Regions from separate parts of the Homo sapiens genome. Here region 1 is linked to region 2. Evidence: promoter capture Hi-C in 16 types of primary human blood cells and fetal thymus (Javierre and others, 2016). All regions are on one chromosome and are shown on one strand. Each heading gives the region's core, a stretch centred on a gene start or on the middle of the fragment in contact. The rest is flanking DNA. Distances are from core to core; before and after follow the strand shown. Region 1 overlaps CD48 (CD48 molecule). Region 2 holds the start of USF1 (upstream transcription factor 1).

Region 1 (5,760 bases), core at 1-2,500, 360 kb before region 2:
TACTTTGACTCTAATAACATCCTGAAAGGTAAGTAGAATTATTCTCATAATATGATGAAGAACCCAAGGCTCTCAAGGGAACACCACTCTTGGATTATTTAGCCCCGCTCTTCTACAAGAATTGCATACCCCAACCCCTGGAGCCCCTCCCCATATCCATGTTTCTGCCCTATAATCTGATCCTTTCACCAAAAATGTTTAGATCAGGTACACACACCTGAACTAAATTGGGACTATCAGTTTCTCTCTCTTTAAATTGCCCTGAGAATTGAAACTCAGAGGAGCAAAAGTCTAAGTTTTGAGAGATAACATGTGTAAAATGGCAGGAATCCAAATCCATAGGCACAGTCCACAGATTCCTGAAGCTAGGGGTTCTGGCCCGAACCTGGTTTTCAATCTTCTCCCCTTAAGCCCTTCCTAGCTCTTTTAAACTCTTTGAATTGCTTTAAATAGCCCTAGTTTCTTAAACTAAATTCTCCTTTTTTGGTAAAGGTACATTGAATTAGTTTCTGTTATTTGCTATCAAAAGAATCTTACCTAATATGGGCACAGAGATGTGAAGATCTTTTTTCAAGGCTGCACAGCTAGTGAGCAACTGACCAGTTTTGAACCCAAGTCTGTCTGGCTCCAGGTATAATGCCTGAGTCCTTATTCCATATACACTGGTTAGACTGGAGCTATGAGTGGAAGTTTTTTTGTCCTGCCCATTATGAAAGTTGAAAAATTCTCCTGATAACTCCTGCCCCATTCTTTATATTAATACATTCTCTTTTTTCTTAAGTCCAATGAAGCCTAATTTCGGAGATATAATCAAGATGAGCTGAGCTGATTTAGGTTGATCACAGGACAAAATGAAGGAAATAGGAAAAATCTCTAGTTTTCCTTCTCTTCAAAGCTTAGACTCACTAACTTCAGAAGAGGTGTTAAATGTCCTAAGATTGTTAATTTGGATATCTGTTGACCTAGGCTCACTCCCAAATAGAATTGGATCAAGGAAAAATGAATCAAACCTGTCCTGAGGTTTTTCTCTCCTCCTCCCCGAGAGTGCCCCATGCCTCCCAGGAAGCCCTACAGTGGTCCATCTGGGGCCACTGGAGTGGGGATTTGCTCTTTGGCTCCCCTGACTCACCAAGCACTTGCAGCTTGATCTTCCATTCTTGCTCATTCCCAGTCTTTTTCAACACCCTCATGATGTAGGTGCTGTTGTCCTCTTTCTGGACCTTAGAGATGTACAGTGCGCCACTCTGAGGATCAAGTCTGACCCTGCCTTTAAATTTGGATTCAAAGTACTTAGATTTTCTGGAATCCCATTCTACAATCTTCTGGTCGAAAGTATAAAACCAGGTTAGTTGTTTGTAGTTCTCAGGCAGGCTCTCAGAGATGTTCAGAGTCACGTTGCTGCCGGAGACCACGGTCATATGTACCAAGTGACCTGCCAATGAGATTCAGAGTGAGACCTGCGCTAGAGGAGGCAGTGTTGCTGACAGGCCCAGGGTATAGCCTGGGCTGGTGGAACAGGTGAGAAGGAAGGGATTTCTGCTTAGGAGCAGTGAGTATGGTTTTCACTGGAGGTCCAGGTCTCCTGCTTAGGAACTCAAGAAAAGTTGAAGCTTGAAAAGTGGGCATGGGGGAAGGGGATGCTGCTTATAATTAATCTAGTACTGTCCCCAGAAAATGAAAGAATTGAGTAAGGCCAACTGAGGTTGGGCCTGGCTCTCTCCCTTACTCTCATACCAGTAGACTTTCAAATAAACTGATGACAAGTCATATCTCTGCTCTGGTCTTGTGTTTCCTGTCTATTCTCATTTCAGTAAGCATGTTGTTAGTCCCTAGAGGCATAGACATAAAAAGTACATGATTCTGTTTAAAAATATTTAATATACCAATGTGGGAGGACAAACACACAAACAAATAATCCTAATATATTATCTTGATGACTATAATAAAGGTAACGTGGGGACCAAGGGAAAGCTTCCCCTTCACCTTCTGAAGGTTTGCCAAAAATCACTGACAAGAGGCAGATTAAGGAGGAAAGGCATACAGATCAATTTAACGTGTAAGCAGAGCCTTCCTAATGAAGAGCCAAAGATACAGGGCAAATTGTCCATTTTTATGCTTAGGTTCAACAAAGTATGGACAGTCATGGAGAAATATGATTGGACAAAAAGGGTATGATTGAATGCCAATAGACTGACTGCGGGAAACCCAGCAAGGCCTATCTTTCTAGATTCTGCTTGGCCTTTCTGTGCCAGATTCTTTCCTTCCTCCCGTGTGTGGGTCAGGCCCTCTCTAGAATGGGGGTCTTATGATTCACAATCAAACAAGATAGGTCAGATAATTTCTTTATAGCTATTTTTTTTTTACAGAGAAAGGCTCAAGGAAAGTTAGGGTGGTATATTTAAATTTTATGGCTGGCTTTGGGGAAAAGGGGTTTTGGCTTCTATGGCCCACCTTGGGAAAGAGGGATTCCAGTGTCTATGGCTAGCCTAGGGGAGAATGGGACTGATAGACAGGAGGGCAGGAGAAGGTCAGAGAAAAACTTTCACTTCTGAGGCTGCTTCTGAGGCCATCATTTTAGGGCATCATTTCCTGACTCCTGACAATAAACACAGTGTGCTATGGGAATATATTCCTATCCGGAGGGTAGGGATAGAAAATGGAGAAAATACTAAGAAAAATCTCTTTGGAGGAGATGACCACTAGGGTAAGCCAAAGGGTGATTAAAAGCTAATATTTGTTAAGAACTATCTGTCAGGCACTATTTGAGACACTTGGGATACATCAATGAACTAAGCAGCTATCGGGGAATCTGCCCTGATATTCACATAGGTTCTTTTCTATTTTTCCTAAGCATTGGCCAGCTTGAGAAATAAAGGGACAGAGTACAAAAGAGAGAAATTTTAAAGCTGAGCATCTGGGGGAGACATCACATGTCGGTAGGTTCCGTGATGCCCCACAAGCTACAAAAACCAGCAAGTTTTTATTAGAGATTTTCAAAAGGGGAGGGAGTGTGCAAATAGGTGTGGGTGACAGACATCAAGTACTTAACGGGGTATTAGAATACCATAAGGCAAGAGGAGGCAGGGCGAGATCACAGGACCACAGGACCGAGGTGAAATTAAAATTGCTAATGAAGTTTCGGGCACCATTGTCATTGATAACATCTTATCAGGAGACAGGGTTTTGAGATCAACCAGTCTGACCAAAATTTATTAGGCAGGAGTTTTCTCTTCCTAATAAGCCTGGGAGTGCTATGGGAGACTGGAGTCTATTTCACCTCTGCAGTTTCGACCATAAGAGACAGGAGCACCTGGGGGTGCTGTTTATAAGCCTATACCTCCAGGCGCGTATTCTCTTTCTCAGGGATGTTCCATGCTGAGAAAAAGAACTCAGCGATATTTCTCCCATTTGCTTTTGAAAGAAGAGAAATATGGCTCTGTTCTGCCTGGCTCACCGGTGGTCAGAGTTTAAGGTTATCTCTCTAGTTTCCTAAACATTGCTGTTATCTTGTTCTTTTTTCAAGGTGCCCAGATTTCATATTGTTTAAACACACGTGTTCTATAATTTGTGCAGTTAATGCAATTATCACATGGTCCTGAGGTGACATACATCCTCCTTGGCTGACAGGATTAAGAGATTAAAGTAAAGACAGGCATAGGAAATCACAAGGGTATTGACTGGGGAAGTGATAAGTGTCCATGAAATCTTTACAATTTATGTTTAGAGATTGCAGTAAAGACAGGCATAAGAAATTATGAAAGTATTAATTTGGGGAACTAATAAATGTCCATAAAATATTCACAATCCACGTTCTTCTGCCATGGCTTCAGCCGGTCCCTCCATTTGGGGTCCCTGACTTCCTGCAACATCTCTCCCTTTCTTTTTATATAAATGTGCCATGGCAATGAAGGCTTGTTCATTCTCTTGATTTTGACACAGGATTCTTTGAGTGGTCTGGGACACTAAAAACAAGCTGATTAAACACAGAAACATATTCCAAAATTTACTACAGTGGAGCCCCCAGTAGACTTAATCCAAGTAGTGGGGTTTAATCCATAAAGATTTTCTGCCACCTGATCTAATGCCTCAGCTCCAGGCATGATGGATAAGTGAGCTTGAGAGGCTTCAAAAATTTGTTTCTTTAATTTAGTTATGTCCAATGATAAATTATCTTCTCTACCTAGAAGGTGTCCTTTGACCATTTCCTATGAATGATCAGTCTCATTATAGGAATACGGGGTGATGCAGAAATCTGAAGTATTCCAATCGCACTGCATTTGCATGTGATGTTTGAGACTCACTACCTGATCTCCAAGCCAAATAACAGACTGTCTTAAATCATTAATTTGACTTGCCAATTTTTGATGGATGCCTTGTTGAGAATTCCACATTTGGGTGGAATTGGCTTGCCAATCATTAACAAAATGAGCCGTTTGAATAGATTGATGTAATGCCATTCCATCAGTGGTGGCCATTGCAGTGACTGTAATTAGGCCCGTGATAACAGCGATTAAAGTGAAAACAAATCTCTTAGATCTTTTTAGAATTTGCTGTAGCACTTCATTAATTAAATGTATTGGGGGGAGGATTCGCAAGGTCTAGGTAAAGTTACTGGAATCCAGATTCCTTCTCAAACTCGAACCAACATTACACTTTTCCTGGAGTCAAAATGGGAGTTAATACAAGTGTATAGATGACAATTAATGCATTGGAAAGTTTGATTATTTGTCCAAATTTTAATATTTCCTACTAACAGCATGTAAGGAGGCTTAACACAACTCTGTATGGGAATAGTCAGGTTGGAGGTAAGTAAAGCAGAATGTCTGGGTCTATGTTGATACTGAGAGAGTGGGACAGTAGTGGGAACAACAGTCAAAATAGTTTTCCCTTCCCATACTCGCAGTCCAGACATGGCAATAGCCAATTTCCAAAGTTCTGGGTGTTCTGGGCTCAGAATGGGGAGTATCATACGAGGCTTGGGGGGCGGGTAATGCCTTTATCTTCCCATTTTAAGGGAAAGAATGAGCTGATCCTCCTATGCAAAGTAGAATGATGATTCTCGTTCTCCTGATAAGAAATAAAATAATTAGCCTCCAGGAATTCCCTTCCACTAGAGGAGCAATTATTTTTTAAATAGCCCTTTGGTGCCCAGTCTATTACTAAACCATATGAGTCATTTTTTAATATTACTGCATGTGAGTTAACACAATCATCCTAAATTAAAGTTTTAGATGGGCCCTCAAAATTTTTAGGGCATGGTTTTCCTGCAGGTTTATATTGAAAGTATGGGGTATCTCCCATTACTTCTCCTTTCATTTGTTTTAAAGGAGAAAGGGAGAGGCCAGAGACTAAATGTCCTATTTTATCTGTAGCTGATGTTTTCGGAAGATAAGCAGCCTAGAATTGAGTTTCTAGGTGGATGCAACCAGGTGCATGTCCGAGGCACAGAGGGGGGTATTTATAATCTATGGTAACATTAAATGCAGTGCCTTCTTCTCCTGGTTGAGCAGGGCAACGGTCATCTGTGGCTCTAGGCATCTACACACTATCATTAGTGTAGATTTCTGCAGGAGCATCTATCTAGGTGAGAGGTCGAATAAGTGGAGGAAAAGGCACATAAGCCTAATAAGAATAATTATGTGTAGCAGGTAAATCAGTGTGAGAGGAAACTGGTGAGACAGAAAGTATAAGGAGGAGAATCATTAAATAAAACCTAGTGTAAGTGAGATTGAGTGCTGAAGGAGGAAGAGAAGAACAGAG
Region 2 (4,846 bases), core at 1,409-3,908:
AGGTCTTTGTATCTCCTGATTCACAGGCCTGAGTGCTAAGTCCTGGTAGAAATCATGAAGTTTGCAATGAGTTTAGGAAACAGAACAGTATCTCTGGTTCTAGAACTTAGGTTCCATGAACACATAGCCAGGAAAATAACCCAGTCATCTGCAGGGGACAATCAGCCTCCACCATACTGATGTTGAGGACTGGCCTACAGTGATTGAAAAAGCAAGGCTACAAATAGTGTTCCCCATCCCTCCATTATCACTCCAACTCCTGGTGGAGAGTGGATAATTATACTGGAAGACAGAAACAACACTTTTTTTTTTTTTTTTTTTTTGAGACAGAGTCTCTCTCTGTCACCCAGGCTGGAGTGCAGTGGCGCGATCTCAGCTCACTGCAACCTCTGCCTCCCAGGTTCAAGTGATTCTCCTGCCTCAGCCTCCGGAGTAGCTGGGATTACAGGTGCACACCACCACGCCTGGCTAATTTTTGTATTTTTAGTAGAGACGGGGTTTCACCATGTTGGCCCGGCTGGTCTCGAACTCCTGAGAGCATGATCTGTCCACCTCGGCAGCCTCCCAAAGTGCTGGGATTACAGGTGTGAGCCACTGCACCTGGCCGAAACAACACATTTCTTTCTTTTTTTTTTTTTTTTTTCTGAGACAGAATCTTGCTCTGTCACCCAGGCTGGAGTGCAGTGGCACAATCTCGGCTTACAACCTCCATCTCCTGGGTTCAAGTGATTCTCCTGCCTCAGCCTCCTGAATAGCTGGGATTATAGGTGCCCACCACCACGCCCAGCTAATTTTTGTATTTTCAGTAGAGATGGGGTTTTACCATATTGGCCAGGCTGGTCTGGAACTCCTGACCTCAGGTGATCCGCCTGCCTCGGCCTCCCAAAGTGCTTGGATTACAGGCATGAGCCACCGCACCCAGCCAACAACACATCTCTAAATGGATCATTAAAGCTATTATGACCTGCCATGATGGCAGCTTCATGGGAATCAGGAAGGGCCATGTATTGGCCCCACCATCAAAAAATACAGTGTCATGGACACTGATGCTTCTTCCAGTTTCTCAGCCACATGTTGTCCATCAAGACATTTCTGTTTTCAAACCTAGGAAGAGGAAATCTGAAGCCCACTACCACTGGAAGAATATCCCTGACCACAAAGACTAGACTTGGCATTTGGGCCCCATTCTACTGACAGGACTCTTGTTTTGGGGTATCCAGATTTATATAATCTGTTAGAAACCCTAAAGCCCAAGTGGATCCTCTTCAAGCATTCTCTATTTTATTCATCAAGCCTTCCTGCAGAACAACACTGTTGCTAAAATGTTGCTATGACAACTCCAAATCAACTAAGCCTGAGCAAGAAGGGGTAAAAAAAAAAAAAACAGGGTTCTGAAGAAGAGACAAAGGGGGAAGAATCCACCTACAAGCTCTGCCTTAGGACCCTGACACCCAGCCAGAGGGCAGGAAAAACAAAGAGCTGGGCAGACATGCCTCCAGAAAGAAACAGCTACACAGTACAAAGCAATAAGATAATCCCAACACAAAAGGGGCAAGATTTTTGGAAATTCTCTACCCATAAGGTCCTCCAAACCTTTCCTATCCAAGGAAAATTTTCAATGGATAAGCCTCGGAAAGACCGCGTCCGAGGAAAATGTTGAAAAAGGAACTGAAAGTGAAACCGTACAGACGAAGTAACGCTGCAAGGAGATCCCAGTCGATAAGGGGAAGTAGCACTAGTGTTTTGGGACCACCTACATTTCCATCTTCAAACCTGAAGAGGAAATGCCCTGCGAAGCTTGCCGCGCTGACTGCAGGGGAAGGCAATGAAATAGAGGGCCCGGCACAGGAGGCATCTCTATTGGCCACAGCTGTCAGCCGGGGCAGTCTCTGAGGACACCCAGCAACGGGGTCAGGGTACTTATTCAAATCTTAGTTGGACATCCGGAAGCATTTCCTAGGCATTAGGGATCGGTGACACGGAAACAGGGATGGGACGTTGTGGTGTGCACGCTCAGGCCAGAAGGGCCCAGTAAGAGCCCTTGCTAAGTCTGGACACAAAGGGAAAAAAAATCAACTCCCGAAAGAAGTCAGGCACCTAGACCTTGCCTTAGAATGAGGCGTCTCCCTGCAGGCTCACCAACCAGAAGGCGCTTACGGAGCTGAGCGCCCGCCAGGCGCGAGCCCGGGAGCCTGCGCCGTGACCCCGCAGCCCCGCAGTCTTAGCCCCGCGCCCCAGCTGCTCCGCGGAGGAGGCAGGAAAGGGCCTCGGGGACTAGGGAGCTCAAGCGCCCGGTGCCGGCGGCTGCGGCGCGCAGCTGGACAGCGCAGGAGGGCTGGGACGCTCGCGCTCTGGGGAAGGGAGAGAGTTTGGCCCACAAAGCAGGGTATGAGATAAAGAACCAGCACAGCCCCCTCCCCCAAAACAAAGGCTTCCTCCCCAGCAGTGTTCTCTAACTTGAAAAACGGAAACAAAATCAAAGCTGCCCTGCCTTGCCAGTCCACCCAGTTTCCAGACTTCTGCCCGGTCCTACACTCACCGGCCAAGGCCGTCTCAGCTGCCGATTTTCTCCAACTGTGTTCTCCCTCTCCCGGCCTAGGTATCTCCATAGACAGCTGCTCATGCGCACTTCCAGCCCGCGGCCATGTTGGTGAGGGGCGGAAGTGTCGCTCTCGCCCCGCCCATAAACTCAAACTCAGAACTGCCCCACTTCCGCTCACTCCATCTTGATGAGAGTTGGTGTTTGTGGGTTATTTGTGAAGCCGGAAAGAAGCCGTGTCCTGGAGAATGTAGCTGAAGGCCTGGCCACTTTCGACAAGAACGGGAAAGAGACGACTAACTTGTACTAATATCTTAGTGCTTGGCAGGGCATTTTTTCATTCCAGGAAAGAAGAGAATCCAGCTGAGATCAAGGGAGGGACGTCCGACGGAGGCGCCATCTTTAACAAGGGCTATTTGGGAGGCCATCTTGGCGCAGGGCGTCTTTTTGAAAGGTTACCTGCTAGAGATTACGACCTATCGGGGCATGCATAGAATTGGATATGTTCCTTGTTATTCGCGTCAGCAGTCACTCATCCAAAGACCCCAAAGCTTCTAGTGTTCTAAAGGCTCACACCTTCTGTGACAGGAATCTTGATTCCCATTCTTCTCAATCAAGACCTACCCTGAATGGATTTGGAGTAGTGTGGTATAATGGGAAAAATTCAAGCTTGGGGGCCAGGCAGATCCAGGTTTCAAACCCATCTCTGCCACTTCTTACCTCTGAGACCTTTGGCAAACATTTTGACTTAATTGAGCCTTAGTTTCCTCATCTATAAACTGGAGATACTAGCACCAACCTTCCAGAATTGTGTGGATTAAATAAAATCAAGGACATAGATTTTGTGAGCACAGGATACTTAGTCCAGTTCCTGGCACATAATGAACGCATTATGTAAATATAAGTTTCTCTTCCTTATTTCCTGACCACCATGAACCTAGCTCTAGTTTCTGGCCACTAGTCTCCATGACAACAACTGAGGAAGAGCACCCAAACAAGAAGAAGAAAAAGAATGTTTTGCCAAATATGTGAAGATATAATACCTATCACCAAAGACTTTAATAAGAATAATGAGACTCCACACTATGTGTAAAAATACAGCTTTTATTCTGAGACATTGACCTTCACTAGAGTGGGACCTGTGGCCCCAGCCTGGCTGGAGAAGCAGTCCCAGGGCCTGAGTGACACCATTTCCCTTTCCTGAAATAGGAACAAGTTATTCCAAAGGAGAAAGGAGAGCCCAGAGAGATCTGTACAGGACCTCTCTTGCACATGGTGACTGGAGGCAGAGGGTGGGGAGCTGGAGAGGAGTCCAGTCCCTCCAACAAATATTGAGGGCTTCAAAGAGCTCTTCCTGGACGTTTCTCTTAATCTGGATTTAAAAGGGACAGGAGGTATCTTAGGGTCCAAGAACATAACAGGAATGGGCAACTCTAGAAGTGTTTGTGTGTGGAAGGCCCTAACCTGGCCCTGTCCTCCCTGTCTCTACCTTTGGCTTTCATGAAGAGAGATTCACAGCTCAGAGGAAGGGAGGAATTTCTCCAGTCTTCACTTTAACAAACTCTTTTAAGTTTTCTGCCTACCTTATGTTCCCTTTGGCCAATGACCCACTCCCTGGGAACAAGATCTTGTTGACTTTCTTGGGAATCTCCTAAGAGATAAGTGCTTTGTGTCGGAGACAAGTTCAGGTAAACCAACCAAGGCAGTGCCTCCCACAGTCAAAGAGAGAAGCTGGAGGGCCAAAGCCTATAGAGTTGGGCACTACAGCTGCTCATGCTGCAGAGGAGACAGCTAGTCAGGAACCCTGGAGATTCAAGACAACTTGCTGGTCCCCTTTGCCCAGGGCTGTGGTCCTAATCACAGTCCTTCACCTTTCCCAGGGTTAGCCTGTGTTTCAAATGCATATGACCTGCGCTGAGAGGACAACAGGGGGTCAGGAACCTGGGGTTCTCTGGGGGGCAGACTAAGACGACTCCGGGATCCAGACCCTTCTGCACCTTCAGATGGGAGCTCCAGGCAGCTAAGGGGCCGAGGAGAATGGGCAGAGATCATGCTACAAGGGGAGGTTCTGGGGATGAGGCAGTAATCCCCACCCTCAGTACAGGTCTGGGTTCGCCGAACTCCTTGAGCCTCAGTCCTTTGGCGGTCCCGGGCTAGGGCCACAGCAGCATCAAAGGAAAGACTACCCCCATTCCTCCAAGAGGATCGAGAAGCTCGGGACCCCCAAGCCCTTTCTCCAGGAGTCCCATCAAGCCGGCCAGGCCTCGGGCATGGATTTGCAGGTGCCACATGAATCTTGCTACACAT

What was found. The method cuts DNA at HindIII sites, captures the fragments that hold promoters and counts their contacts. A CHiCAGO score of 5 or more calls a contact.
Region 1: a fragment that was not itself captured here is called in contact with the fragment with the promoter of USF1 in region 2 in 2 of 17 cell types (naive CD4 T cells and naive B cells); the score reaches 5.9 in naive CD4 T cells.

The regions. Positions count from the first base shown.
Region 1 is chr1:160,683,758-160,689,517 of GRCh38, forward strand. CD48 (CD48 molecule) reads right to left here. Exons shown (of 4, transcript NM_001778.4): 2 at 1,130-1,432. It overlaps LOC124904439 (endogenous retrovirus group K member 18 Env polyprotein), which reads left to right. Exons shown (of 1, transcript XM_047438433.1): 1 at 1-5,760. Among named protein-coding and RNA genes, the nearest start is that of CD48, 25 kb to the right of the region's middle. The HindIII fragment of the contact is 715 bases long and covers 894-1,608 here.
Region 2 is chr1:161,043,319-161,048,164 of GRCh38, forward strand. It overlaps USF1 (upstream transcription factor 1), which reads right to left and starts at 2,659. Exons shown (of 11, transcript NM_007122.5): 1 at 2,540-2,659; 2 at 1-42. ARHGAP30 (Rho GTPase activating protein 30) reads right to left here. Exons shown (of 12, transcript NM_001025598.2): 12 at 3,628-4,846. The coding sequence ends at 4,397. RefSeq lists enhancers at 1,459-1,688, 1,748-2,628, 2,227-3,426, 2,539-3,018, 2,629-3,509. The HindIII fragment of the contact is 1,293 bases long and covers 1,796-3,088 here.